Linked DNA regions of Homo sapiens: all the other regions are linked to region 4. Evidence: promoter capture Hi-C in 16 types of primary human blood cells and fetal thymus (Javierre and others, 2016). All regions are on one chromosome and are shown on one strand. The core of a region is centred on a gene start or on the middle of the fragment in contact, and the rest is flanking DNA. Distances in the headings are between cores, read along the strand shown. Region 1 overlaps MIPEP (mitochondrial intermediate peptidase). Region 2 has its middle 16 kb from the start of C1QTNF9B. Region 3 overlaps MIPEP (mitochondrial intermediate peptidase). Region 4 holds the start of TNFRSF19 (TNF receptor superfamily member 19).

Region 1 (3,088 bases), core at 61-2,560, 270 kb after region 4:
TGAAACCCCGTCTCTACTAAAAGTACAAAAATTAGCCGGGTGTGGTGGCGGGTGCCTGTAATCCCAGCTACTCGGGAGGCTGAGGCAGAGAATTGCTTGAACCCAGGAGGCGGAGGTTGAGTGAGCCACGATTGTGCCACTGCACTCCAGCCTGGGCGACAGAGCAAGACTCTCCATCTCAAAAAAAAAAAAAAAAAAAAAAGGAATCAGACTTTGCAAGGCAGGGCTGGGATGAGGAATGGAAAATGGGAATCATAATAGGAATTCTAGGCAGAAGCGACAGTATAACTAAAGTATGATGGCATAAAATAGCCTGGTAACTTCTAGAAAGGATGTGGTTAAAGATGAAGCAGTTACCAATGCAGGGATAAATGTAGAAAGAATGGGAGCGGAGTCTGGAAAAGGCAGGCAGGGGCCAGAAAACAGAGGGCCTGGTCCACTAAGCTGAGGAACTGGGACCATGCACCATAGGCCATGGCCTCTAAGCTTCCTCACCAATGCACACTAAAATAACTTTTGAGTATTCAACCTTCTATTAGTACACTCATAAAGTATATGCATGTGGTATTGTTTTATCACATTGCAAAAAGAAAAGCAGACATTTTTATAAGTTGAGATAAAGAAAAATAAATATACATAGAATTTCTAATATTTTATGACTACACTCTCAATGAATTGCTTACAGATGCCATTTGGGAGACAGCTTCTGTAGGCCATAGGGGAGCATCTGATGTTTTCTGGAATGCTGCACAGTGGACAGCATGGAGGGTGGAATGCAGGAGGCAGGGAGGGCTGACAGGAGGACAGACTTCCAGGCTTCAGAGGGTGAACTCTGACAGAGGGCAGTGGGGTCAGGGATGAATGTGTTTTTCCTTTGAGATGCAAACGTCTCAGGACTGTGTGAGTGATTGGATTTGGAGGGTGATGAGAAAGACAGAACAATCTAGAATAACACTCAGGTTTCTGGCTTGGACAAATAAGTGGATGGTAGAGTCACTGAATCAGCCGGCACAATGAACACAAAAAAGGAAGAGGGGAATCTGGGTGTGTTTGTGGGAGAAGAGAGGAGGGTGAGGTGCAATGATGGGAGGAGGATGGAGGGCTCACAGAAAATAAACTCCATTTTGGAGGAACCGACTGTGAAGTGCCCATGAGATACCAGACACTCAGGACCCAAAGCTAAGGAGAACAAGGAGACTTCACTGTACAGATATTAGAGCCATAGAGGGAGACAGGGCCATTAGGGAAGGGCGATGCGGGCAGAGAAGGTAAAGGGCAGACCCCTGAACTACCAGAGGGAGGGGTGGGAAGGAAGACACAGAACAGTTCAGAGGTACTGAAGAACTGAGAGAAAGGAGTGCATGGAAAGAGGGGAGAAAATAAACTATAAAAGGAAGTGGTCCAGGCTTGAGGTTTCCACTCCTGCACATGAGGAGGTTGAAAGTCACCACTCCATCCTAACAAGCAGGAAGCTGAACAAGCTGAAAATCAAGAATCTTCTTAGATTCAGCAGAGAATCAAGGCCACAGAGCAAACTGCTGCCCCCAAAACTGGAAAGAAAGGCAGGCAGCCATAGAGAATCACAGCTTACCAGAGCAGAAACCTCCCATAGAACCTACTACCAAGGCAAGAAAGTTTAAACTATAATTGGTTATAAAAAGCAATTCATTTTTTTGTTTCCAGACAATAAAAACACAAAAATAAAGGAGAATAAAAAGAAACTTTACATATTAAAATTCTACCCTTCTTAAGATTATAATGAACATTTATTTTTATGGAAAAGAAACACAGTAAAGCTAGTAACACAGCTTATTTTACTAAACTATAACCTAAAAATATTTACTGTCTTATCCAATGACCATGACAATCATTATGTGTTGGGCAAAATTCAAGGAAACAATTTATCTTGGAAAAAAAATTTAAGTATAGAATATAAGTTCATATAATATTACAATATTACCCTAAAATGATTGGGAACAAATGAATTTCTAAACTGCCTGTTTTAAAATAAAAACACCTCAAAAATATTAACAATGGGCAAAAAGTATACTGTCTTGTCCCCTGGCTCACTATGCCCACCCCCAGAGGTAAATATCTTGTGTATCCTTCCAGGCATTTCCTATGCACACTCTTAGAAGCTTATGCATGTAAACTTTATGTATATATAAACCTACTTTGGCACAAATAGAATCATACCATTCACACTATCTCGCAATTTTATTTAACATAAAAATATATCAATGATATGTATTTTTACACATATATTTTTCATAAAAATATAACTTGGAATACTTTCCAGTTTAGTATATAAAGCTCTAGCCTGTTTTCTTTCATGGGTGTAGTCATCCACAGCAAACACATGACAAAGCTCATTTCATGCATCTCCTGTTGTGTTGTACATGAGCAGAGGAGGCAAGGTCAATGAGAGCCTGAAGCATCAATGGGGGAAGCATCCGACCACTGACATCGTTTGGAATTTCCCACATATGGGGATATTAAAGGAACCCAGACTTTTCATCAGTTTTATTATTGATTTTAACTTTTTTACAGAAAATGCATCCCGTTAGGCCACACCCAGAGCTCACTTCCCTGCCTTGGTCTGCCTCTGTTCCTTTTAACTGACGGTAAGCTGCTGTTAGTTTATCTGTTAAAGTGATGCCATAGTGAAATGTCCTTGTCACACCCACACAAGCCTATCCATAAGATAAACTGAAGAAATGGCATTGCTGCAAAGAGTACAAGATCTTAAGTTTTTTGATATGTATTTCCAAATTATCCTCTAAAAAAAGCTGTTTCTAACTTACATTCCTACCTGCAGTGTATGAAAATACCTAGTGCTCTCACTCTCGCCAATGTAATTCTGTTACGTTTCTTTTAATGCTTCCTTTATTTTCCTTCTTTAGCTATGTGTGCTGCATTTCCTTTTTCTTTCTAATAATTTGATATATTAGTGATATTTATAGTCTATATTTTAGCTTCTCTGGTGGTTTCTCTATTGTTTTTAATTTTTTTTTTTTTTGAGACGGAGTCATGCTCTATCACCCAGGCGTGCAGTGGCATGATCTCAGCTCACTGCAACCTCCACCTG
Region 2 (3,226 bases), core at 205-2,704, 340 kb after region 4:
TGGGTTTGAGATGTTTTGGTGGGCTAAACGGGCAATTTTATAACATGGCTTCTCCTATGCCTTGTTTGTGATGTTTAATGAATATCCTTGCAGTTTAAGATGACACTTTTAAAATACATTGTCTCCTAATGATGGCTTGAACTCTGTTGCTAAACAGGAGAATCAGGATCTCATTTGGAATTGACATTGTCTATTGTAGTTTTGTTTTTGTTTATTTTTAAATTTTCTTTTTGTTTTACTGGAAAGATGCTAGTTTTAAATGTTAAAAGTATACAAGTTATTACAATCAAACTAGATGTGTACACACAAAGAAAATTAAATAAGTTGATGTAACGGTGCTTGTAATTCAAAAATATAAAGGTTTATCTTATGTTAATTTCCTATCTTTTCCCATTTTACAAATTTTGTAAGTTGAGTATTTATCTAATCAAATATAATTTAAACACAGAAAAATAGAATAATGTTGTGTTCTGGTCCTAGAGCAGGATTGGTAAACTTTTCTGTAAAGGATCAGATAGTATTATGTGAGGCTTTGTGAGCAATAGGATCTCTGTTGCAACAACTCAACTCTCTAGTTACAGTACAAAAGTAACCATAAACAATATGCAGATTGAAGAGGTGTGGCTGTGTTTCGATAAAATTTAGTTACAAAAGCAGGTGATGGGCAGGTTTGTACTAGATTATAAGTAGAGTTTATTATTATGATTATTTGTTTTAGTTGCAAGAAGCAAAGGATCAAATCACAGATGTTACAGGAGGTGCTGAAAAGACTCAAGACTACATGCAAAAGCATAAGTTAAAGTAACTTGAGTATTTATAAAGCAAATAAACAATGTAGTATGATAATTGTATGAGTGAGGATAATAAGCGCATCTGTGTGAAGCCAAGGATAAAGTTCACCTTTAAGCTATTTTGAAATGCATAATTTTTGTACGTTATTCCTAAATTTTGCACATTACCCACAAAATATAGGTAGAAAAATGATACAGTCTCCCAATCATCTATTTTTCAACTCTTTAAGAATTTACATAATCATAGATGCTTAGAAATTATGTGATATTTTAGAAATGTATCTTTGAGGATAATTATTTTAAAATCTACCTTTTAGGCTTAATATAAAAAATTTCCAAGTAAAAATTCCAGTCAAAAATCAAGTGGAAAAAAATGAACAGTTTGAGAAAAACCGGTTAAGTCCAAGTTTGGTAAGTCAATTTTTAAATTTCTGTCATACTGAATAGAAATTTTATTTTTCTAGTAAGACAGATTGAATATCCCTTATCCAAAATGCTTGAGACCAGAAATGTTTCAAATTTTGTATTCTTTTGATTTTAGAATATTTGTGTATACTTAATGAAAGATCTTAGGAATGAGACCCAAGTCTAAACACAAAATTCACTTACATTTCATATATACCTTATACACATAGCCCGAATTTTATACAGGATTTTATAAAATAATTTTGTGCATGAAACAAAGTTTTGACTGTGTTTTGCTGTTGTTCTGTCACATGAGGTCAAATGTGGAATTTTCCACTTGGGGCATTATGTCTGCATTCAAACAGTGTCAGATTTTGGAGCTTCAGGTTTTTAGAGTAGAGATTTTCAACCCATAGTACAGAAGCTCCTCAACTTATGATGGGGTTACATCCCAATAAAGCCATTGTAAATTGAAAGCATTGTAAGATGAAAATGTATTTAATATACCCAACCTACCAAACATCACAGCCTGGCCTACCTTAAACATTATCCGATCACTTACATTAGCCTACTGGTGGGCAAAATCGTCTAACACAAAGTCTTATAATAAAGTATTATATATCCCATGTACTGCGTATTGCCAACCTGGGAAAAGATCAGGATTCAAAATTCAAAATTCAGACTGTGTTGAAATTGCAATAGTTTCACACCATGGTGAAGTCAAAAAATTACAAGTTGAACCATTGTAAGTTGGGGGTCTATCAGTATATAAGAATATTTCAGACAATGTGAAAAGTCTCATTGATAAAAAAATATTTTATTCATATTGATACTACTTGCCACTAGTAGTGCAATCTTCTTGACTTCATAGAATAAGTTGACTGAATTCATAAAGTTAATGATTTTGATAAAAGTCACATTTTAATAAAAGAGATTATGATAGTCTAAAATCAATATTTTATACCTACTTTTTTTTTTTTTTTTTTTGAGACAGAGTCTCGCTCTGTCGCCCAGGCTGGAGGGCAGTGGCGCCATCTCGGCTCACTGCGAGCTCCTCCTCCCGGGTTCACGCCATTCTCCTGCCTCAGCCTCCCGAGTAGGTGGGACTACAGGTGCACGCCACCGTGCCCAGCTAATTTTTTGTATTTTTAGTAGAGACGGGGTTTCACCATGTTAGCCAGGACGGTCTCGATCTCCTGACCTCGTGATCCACCTGCCTCGGCCTCCCAAAGTGCTGGGATTACAGGCGTGAGCCACCACGCCTGGCCTATATATACATTTTAAAAAAATTTATTCATGCATCGAGGGAAAGTTGGGTTATTTCCATCTTTTGGCCATTAGAAATAATGCTGCTAATGGATACTACTTCATTATACAAGTATTTTTTCCCCTACAGCATGTGTTTTTCTTACTGCAAGTTAAAAAAAAAAGAAAAGAGATGCCAGTGAAAAAGTAGAAATGGGTGCTCCAGGAGGGCCTTAGGGAGTAACATAGTCCTCCTAACATAATGTTCAGAAAGTAATCTTTTTCCATTCACCTGTGTTCATCAGCCTTTCAAAGCCTTAACAGTCCAATCGCAGAAAAGATGGATACATACTCTAGGATATCAATTTATTGATGTAGAGTGAAAACTATATAAATGATAACAAAGCAAAACAGAATTCTCCTGACATTCATGCTTTCCTTTGTAGGAATGAAGGTCAGAAAATTGTGTCATGAATACTAAATTGGAGCAATGAGGTAGATGCTCCTACTAACGAGTTTCCTTAAGTCACAATAGGAAGATTTATGCAATTTTATCATTCCGATTAAACCTATCAGGGAAACTAGAACTTTTGTAAGAACACTCACGACCTATTAAGCCTATGCAAAAATAATGAAGGTTTTTCTGTACATTTTCATAGAAATAAATTAGGAATATTGCATAGAATTATTAGCGACTTTAAAATCTACCCTATGAATTAAAAATCTAATAAGAGACAGCTTTCAACAAACTCAATCAATAGCCTCTATTTTCTGCAGAAAGTTCT
Region 3 (3,571 bases), core at 814-3,313, 290 kb after region 4:
GCCAGCCTATAGAATGTAAACCAGCTACTGTTCATGTAAATCAGAACAATTTTATAGAATCCCTTAAAAAATTGATAGCTTGGCAGAAAATACCTGGCTCCTTATTTTGACTTCCCTGTAATCAAGAGATAGTGAAGTATAACTAAGACCTACCCCAGAATCTGGGGAAAAGACAAACAAATGTCATTCTGAAGTGGTATCTAACAAAAGTAAACATTAACGAATTATATTAGCCATAATGAAATTTTTCCCAAAATGTAACCCATGTATTAATCCATAAAACACACTGTAGGTAAGATGAGTGTACTAAAGGTAGGATTAAGGTTCTTTCTAAATCTAAGCAAGAAGCTTTGGGTAGATATCAAAAATGAAAGCAGCAATTTAAAATGTAACCAAGGCAGAATTAACTCTAATCTTGGCAAAGAAAATATGTCATAAAGAAGTACTATAGTACTAGTTGCTTTTGATGATTGGCACATAATACTGAAAGAAGGGAAAGCTTGAATACTTGAATGACTGTCCTTCCTTCTAGGTGTCCAGGTGGACAAAAGAGTGGTTAAGAGACCAGGCTGTGAAGACAGACTGCCTGGGCTCAAGTTTCCAATCCATACCAGACTATAAACTGCATGATGACAGGGACTTTGTTTGCATCCTTCCCTATTACATTCCTGTCCCCTGAACAGTACCTGGCCCAGGGTAGTCACTCAGTAAATATTTGTTGAAAGAATCAACAGTACCTCCCAAAGAAGACTGCTGAATGTACTTAAACTATTAAGTAGAATATCTGGCATTGAGTAAGGGCTCAACAAATGTTGGCTACTCTCCTTATTACCATTATCCTTTAACATTTCAGTTTAGGCATAATCTCCTCCAATAACAAGGTGTTATTTCCCATATTCCATGGTAATACTTATATCATGGGATGCATGACAACCTAAGATACTTGTAGGCTTATTTTCTTTCTCCTCATGAGTGCCTGAAGGGCAGGGACTGCGTCCATGGAACCCTAGCCCCACAGTGTTCTGGTCCTGGCACACATTTTCTCTAACAGATGATTATTTGCTATCTGCTAGATGCAGACAGAGTGCAGGCTGTAATCAGACAAAAACAAGAGGATGATAGCCTAGGCAGTAGAAGGGCAAGTGACTCAACAATCAGAGGACAGTATGTCATGTCTACATTGTGCCATGTAAAACACAGCCCACAAGAAGAGTATTTAAATCACAGCGGAAGGTTAGGAAATGTTCTCAAGAAGGCAAAGCCTGAATTGAGTTTTATGATAGAAGCAGTTAATCCAGATGAGAAAGGGAGAAAGGCATTCCTGTAGGTGGTGTTTGTAAATGACTGGAAGCTGCTCACCATGCCATATTTATGTGGCCGGCACGTAAATATTAATTCAAATTAAAGAATCAAAGAAAGCAAAGCAAGGAAAGAAAGCAAAACTAAGTGAATAGAGATCACATGAGCATCACACAGGTATTAGGAGAGAGCAAAGAACACAGCCTCGGCTTGGAGGGGCAGCAGAAGATGAAGCTAGAGAAGGAGGCAAGGGCCAAATCATGAGGGCTTGGCGGGAGCAGCAGGGTAGTAGGAAGGGAAACTGGAGAATAACCAGGAGCTACTGAATAATTTTAAACAACAGAGTGACAAGATCAGATCTGCTTTTTAGACAAATCCCTCTGGTGGCAATTCATTCATTCATTATTCATTCATAGTTCAAATAAGTGTTGACAACCAATTCTATGCCTAACACTGGGCTAAATACATGGCTAAACTGTCTGAATCCAAGACGGCTTCGAGTGGAGCAAAAACAAAAGGCTAGAAACCAGTTAGGCAATCCCAGTTACCATCTGGGTGAGAATAATGATTGGGATCATAGCCCAGGCTATGGCAATGGGCACAGGAGAAGACACAAGAGTTCACAGGGAGGGAGAATCTGCAGGACCTAACAAATGATTATGGGGGAGGGGAGTGTGCAGTGCCTGGGGTGCTTGTTGAAACACAGATTGTGGAGCTCACCCCAGTTTTTGATTCAGTGGGTCTGAGGTGGGGCTCAAGAATTTGCATTTCTAACAGGCTCCCATGTGATGCTACTGCTTCTGGTCCAGGAACCACACTTTGAGAACCACTGGTCTGGATTAAGTATAGGTCCTGACCAGAGCAGCAGGGTGAATGGTGGCACCATTCACCAAAGCAGGGACTTCATGAGGAGATTGGGCATTTCACAAATATCTGCAGAATAATTGTATCCATAAGCTATATACAAATATCTACAGATAACAGTTTAAAGTCATATTCACTTTTACTGAATTAGCTTTTGGCAACACATTTTGTTTTTTATTTTTCTGTTTCTATAGTCACCAAACTAAATTCTTACCTATTATCTGGTTTCCCAAATAAGCCTACCTACCAGGTCAAGGTGTGCAGATGACTGTGCAGATGACTAACAGTAGTTACTTTGCTAGACACAGCTCCTTCCATAAATTAACAGACTGACATGCTACTCTACACATCGCTGAGTTTAATGGGATTAATCTGTTTCCTAGTGGCTGTATCTGGGAAGCTAGTAAACAGTTTGTAAATCTGCAAGGCCCATTTCCCTAAATCTTCCTTATGACTATGGCTCTGGCAGCAGCAACTAAGTCAAGAACTAATAACAGCATTTGGAAAAGAATGGTGTAGACAACCCCGGCAATCCTGTAGTGCCCTAGAACCAAATGGGAATGAGTCCTAATATCTGGACTCTCGACACTTTTCAGGGCACTCCCCCAATCACCTGGGCAGCATTCTGGCCATAACAATACTTGTCTATACTCTTGGATCACATAAGGAAGATCATATAATCATATGATTGAAAACAACACTTAAGTGTTTTTAGAATGTGGTATACTTTGTTAGTCAAATACTCAATTGGGCACCATAAATTAGCTAACAAATAAGCAAATGAACTGCAACATTAACACTGATGGTTAAAATTGCCACCTGCCAGATGAAGCCTCCACTGAGTCTCCTTAAAGTCTGCTTCAAACTGAGAAGCCAACATTCCACAGAATGAAAGCAGTCTTTGCATGAATATATACACATTGTGTTAGTGTATATACATAAAATATGTCGACTCCTCAACAAAAATGCTGTATGTACAGGCAACATCAGTTTGGGACATAAGAATCAAATATTTCAACATCTTTATTCACCAAAACCGAGGATCAGAAACAAGACTAAATGGACCTGTAGCCTATCACAAGAAAGTTCCTGAATCAAAAGATATTGATTTCAGTTGACAGACTGTCTATATTATAATAAAAATATTCCAACATACTTACGGAATTTTGAGGATTCAGTTTCATTTTCATCCCTCGTATCATCTCAAAATCTTTCAGAGTTCTATAAAACAGGTTTATCATTACTTGTTAGGACAAAATTTTAACAATTACATTATGAAAGGACTAGTTTGCTTATGTTACATTCCAATATTCATAAGATTAGATACAATTAGTAGTGCACACATAAATCACTATTAATCCAAATTTTACCTAAGTGTCATGAGAAATAACAATATATAAAGCAGCAT
Region 4 (3,123 bases), core at 299-2,798:
TCTTGTAAATATTTTGTCTTTGTAAATATTTTCTTTGTATTCATGGGTTCAAGATGCCCAGGAAACGTATGTGAAGCCCAGATGTCACAGGAATTTTCCTGGTCTGCTTTAAGGAAGTCCTTAAGCATCACACCTGCCAGTTCAAATACTATTTGAGCCCTGTGCATTTTTGAGAAATGATGTATAAGTAGAAAAATTATACAAGAAACATGGAAAAATCAACAGGACTATTTAAATGTTATACAGAACTTATGAACAGTTCAAACTAAATATTTTGCTATTAAAATTATTCAAGAATCATAGAAATCTGGAAATAAACACTTCATAAATAACGTTTTCAAATATCGCGTCAGGAAAAATTAGACAAAACCAGTTAAGGAGGGAAGTTACATTGAAAAAGACTGAGTTCTACTATCCCCTAAGTTTTGCAAAAATATTTTTAACTTACTTTCTAAAAGTTAGTGAGTTTCCATTATAAAATAGAAAAATTGTCTTCATTCCATGAAAGAACTGTCTGAAAATCAGAAAAGCACCATATCCTGGATTTCAAGGAAGATGAAACTTCTTCTTATCTTCTATTTTACTAAATACTCAAAATAAAATAATCATATTGTATTGAATCTGACATTGTTAAGGAAAATAGCTTAAAATTTTTAAATAATGAGCAATATATTTAATTTTAAAATACGAAGAATTAGGCTAAGGTGGTAATTTTTTAGTGAGTTGAAAGTCCAAACTATGAGTTCGGAAGAAACAGCCCTAAAAGGCAAATAACATGGCTTTGGAATAATCACAGGGCAAATGCTTTGTTCTACATAATTCTTCTTTTGTGAATTTTAAAATGCTCAACAAGTATTAATGAAATATGTCTAAGAAGTAGATATTGCTTTAAAATCTAATTTCCAGAGTCCCGAACTAAGGCAAAGATTGAGATTAAGTCTCCGCCCAAAGTCTTAAGTGAGCCAGTGGAAGATGGCAGTTTATTCATGAATTGTTGGTTATCTGCTGCTTAACTACTTAACACAACCCGGTTTGATTGGTAATCAGATCCTAATAATGTATGTTTCAAAGAAAGGGCAGTTTCCTTAAAATCCTTAAAGACTTGTCACTTTGAAAACTGGAATCAAAATGTGAAAATGTTATCGGTCCATCTGGCAGTGTCCTTGGGTGTTTTTTAGAGTGGTCTCATAGTGCTATTTAACTATGCTGAATATTTGACACCCAGTCTCTGTAGGAAATTGTGATTTTTATCAGCGAAGAGGCAATTAAATGCTGTCATTTGGCACGTCCATCCATCAGGGATCTTATCACCCAAGAAGCATCCAGCAGCAGTTGCTGTCCTTTCCAGCTGGCAGACAGATAACAGAAACTGTCCTGTGTGAGGCACAATAGTCTAACATGATTAGAAATCAGCCAAACTCTGGCTTCTCTTGAGCTATACTCCCCCACAGGCTGAATTATAGCTCTCCTACCAGTCCCACGGCGCTGAATGATGTCATGGGATCTGCAGTTCAGCGAGATGAAAGGGATAAAGCAGAACCCGCTGGCACTAGGAAAAGCTTCCAACACACAGTCCACAACACAGCTTGGGAACCAAAAAAGCTACAGATCCAGCCACTCAGCCCAAGCATGGGAGAACTACCAGCATTGCCTCATTGCAAAAAAGAGGAGGAAAACAACGTGATCCATGTTTAACAAAAGAGTCTGTGGACTAGGAGGTGGGAGGGTAACTACCTGCTGAAAGTGAACTTTCTTTGATATCCATGCATATATATAAACTCAGCCCTGCCTTTGATGTTCAGCAACTGATTCACTGATCAGATTACAGGCATTTCATCTCCCTGCTCGTCTGCCTTTGATCTGCATGGTTAATTTTATTTTCCTGGATTTGAAGTTTCGTCTGGGCTTGTGCTGACATACATTTTTGGGAAGGTAGAAGCATTTGGCACAGAAGTGCTGCCAGGAGAAACTAAGTTGCTGAACGGGTAAGTACTGCAAAGAGCTCAGCATGTTGCAGGTACTCTGTTTTAAGCTTTGTTATAGCTTTCACTGCATTTTTCGCATGTGTTCTGAGAAAAGAATGGTTTTAATTAATTTTTTAGAAAGCATTTATACAGCTGAATACTACATGATGCTGAATGTGTGTATCAGAGTAACTATGGAACTTGATGTAATTTTTAGTAGTTTGTACAAGAGGGTTTGCAGTCTGTCATACAAATTTTACTTGGAAATGAGTTGTACAAACAGGACAAAACAGAACAGCGCTCACTTTAGCATGCAACTGGTACTTCAACCCCTGAGATCTGTGAGCTATAATTGCTCTAAGTATTTACAGGTTACCTTATTTAGTAAACAGTCAGTGCAACTTTGCTTGTTGAAAATGCTTTCTTTGTTTTCTTATATAAAAGAGTAAAATGTATCTCTGGCAATACTGTTTCTTTAGTTTATTTATTCTCTCACTTCCAAGATGTAAATCTATCAAATACACTTCCTTATGCAGTTTGTACACTCAAGGGAATCACTGAAAAACCATCAAGTATGATTAAAGACTTTTATGTGTAAAACTGAAGAATTTAAAAACAGTGAGGATAAAGTTGCACTAAGTTTGGCTAAAAATACTCCAGTGATTTTCTATAACCTTTGGAAATAGCATAAGCCTTATTTACAGAAACATTCACAAGGTTAATATTCCTAAATTAACATTTACTTTACATTTATAGTGACAGCTGTTTTAAGTCAAAATTTGCCAACTGTTTATGAAAACTATCTGAGTAATCAACAGTTATTATGTTACATAAAGTATCTTAGTCACATTTTCACTTTAGCTAATGCCCAACATGACAAAACCAAATTATATTGCTGTACCGAATTTGAAAGTTAACTGTTATTTTTTTGTCAGTTCATGATACACACACACTCACGCTCACACACACACACAGTAAAATCTTTACAGTGAAATATAAAAACTAAATACAATGGAAAAGTAACACTGTTACTTTGTTCGCGATGTTTTTTTTTTTAATGTTCTAGTCCTAAATTTATCTGGGCAAAATATTTAATTATTATCACAAGTCTATTTGATGCTAGCTGAACCATAAAGAAACCATAAGTGATAAGACCAGT

Evidence for each region. Contacts are between HindIII fragments. The CHiCAGO score rates a contact against its expected background, and 5 or more counts as called.
Region 1: a fragment that was not itself captured here is called in contact with the fragment with the promoter of TNFRSF19 in region 4 in 9 of 17 cell types (erythroblasts, M2 macrophages, megakaryocytes and 6 more); the score reaches 11.4 in erythroblasts.
Region 2: a contact is called between a fragment that was not itself captured here and the fragment with the promoter of TNFRSF19 in region 4, in 5 of 17 cell types (megakaryocytes, fetal thymus, erythroblasts and 2 more). The highest score is 6.8, in megakaryocytes.
Region 3: a contact is called between a fragment that was not itself captured here and the fragment with the promoter of TNFRSF19 in region 4, in 13 of 17 cell types (erythroblasts, M2 macrophages, M0 macrophages and 10 more). The highest score is 16.6, in erythroblasts.

What each region holds. Positions count from the first base shown.
Region 1 is chr13:23,842,918-23,846,005 of GRCh38, forward strand. All of the region lies in intron 10 of MIPEP (mitochondrial intermediate peptidase), which reads right to left. Among named protein-coding and RNA genes, the nearest start is that of PCOTH, 44 kb to the right of the region's middle. The HindIII fragment of the contact is 1,652 bases long and covers 485-2,136 here.
Region 2 is chr13:23,912,091-23,915,316 of GRCh38, forward strand. It overlaps the pseudogene ANKRD20A19P. Among named protein-coding and RNA genes, the nearest start is that of C1QTNF9B, 16 kb to the left of the region's middle. The HindIII fragment of the contact is 6,728 bases long and covers 1-3,226 here.
Region 3 is chr13:23,858,979-23,862,549 of GRCh38, forward strand. It overlaps MIPEP (mitochondrial intermediate peptidase), which reads right to left. Exons shown (of 19, transcript NM_005932.4): 9 at 3,324-3,384. Among named protein-coding and RNA genes, the nearest start is that of PCOTH, 28 kb to the right of the region's middle. The HindIII fragment of the contact is 3,133 bases long and covers 498-3,571 here.
Region 4 is chr13:23,568,864-23,571,986 of GRCh38, forward strand. TNFRSF19 (TNF receptor superfamily member 19) reads left to right here and starts at 1,549. Exons shown (of 10, transcript NM_148957.4): 1 at 1,549-1,985. The HindIII fragment of the contact is 1,879 bases long and covers 1-1,557 here.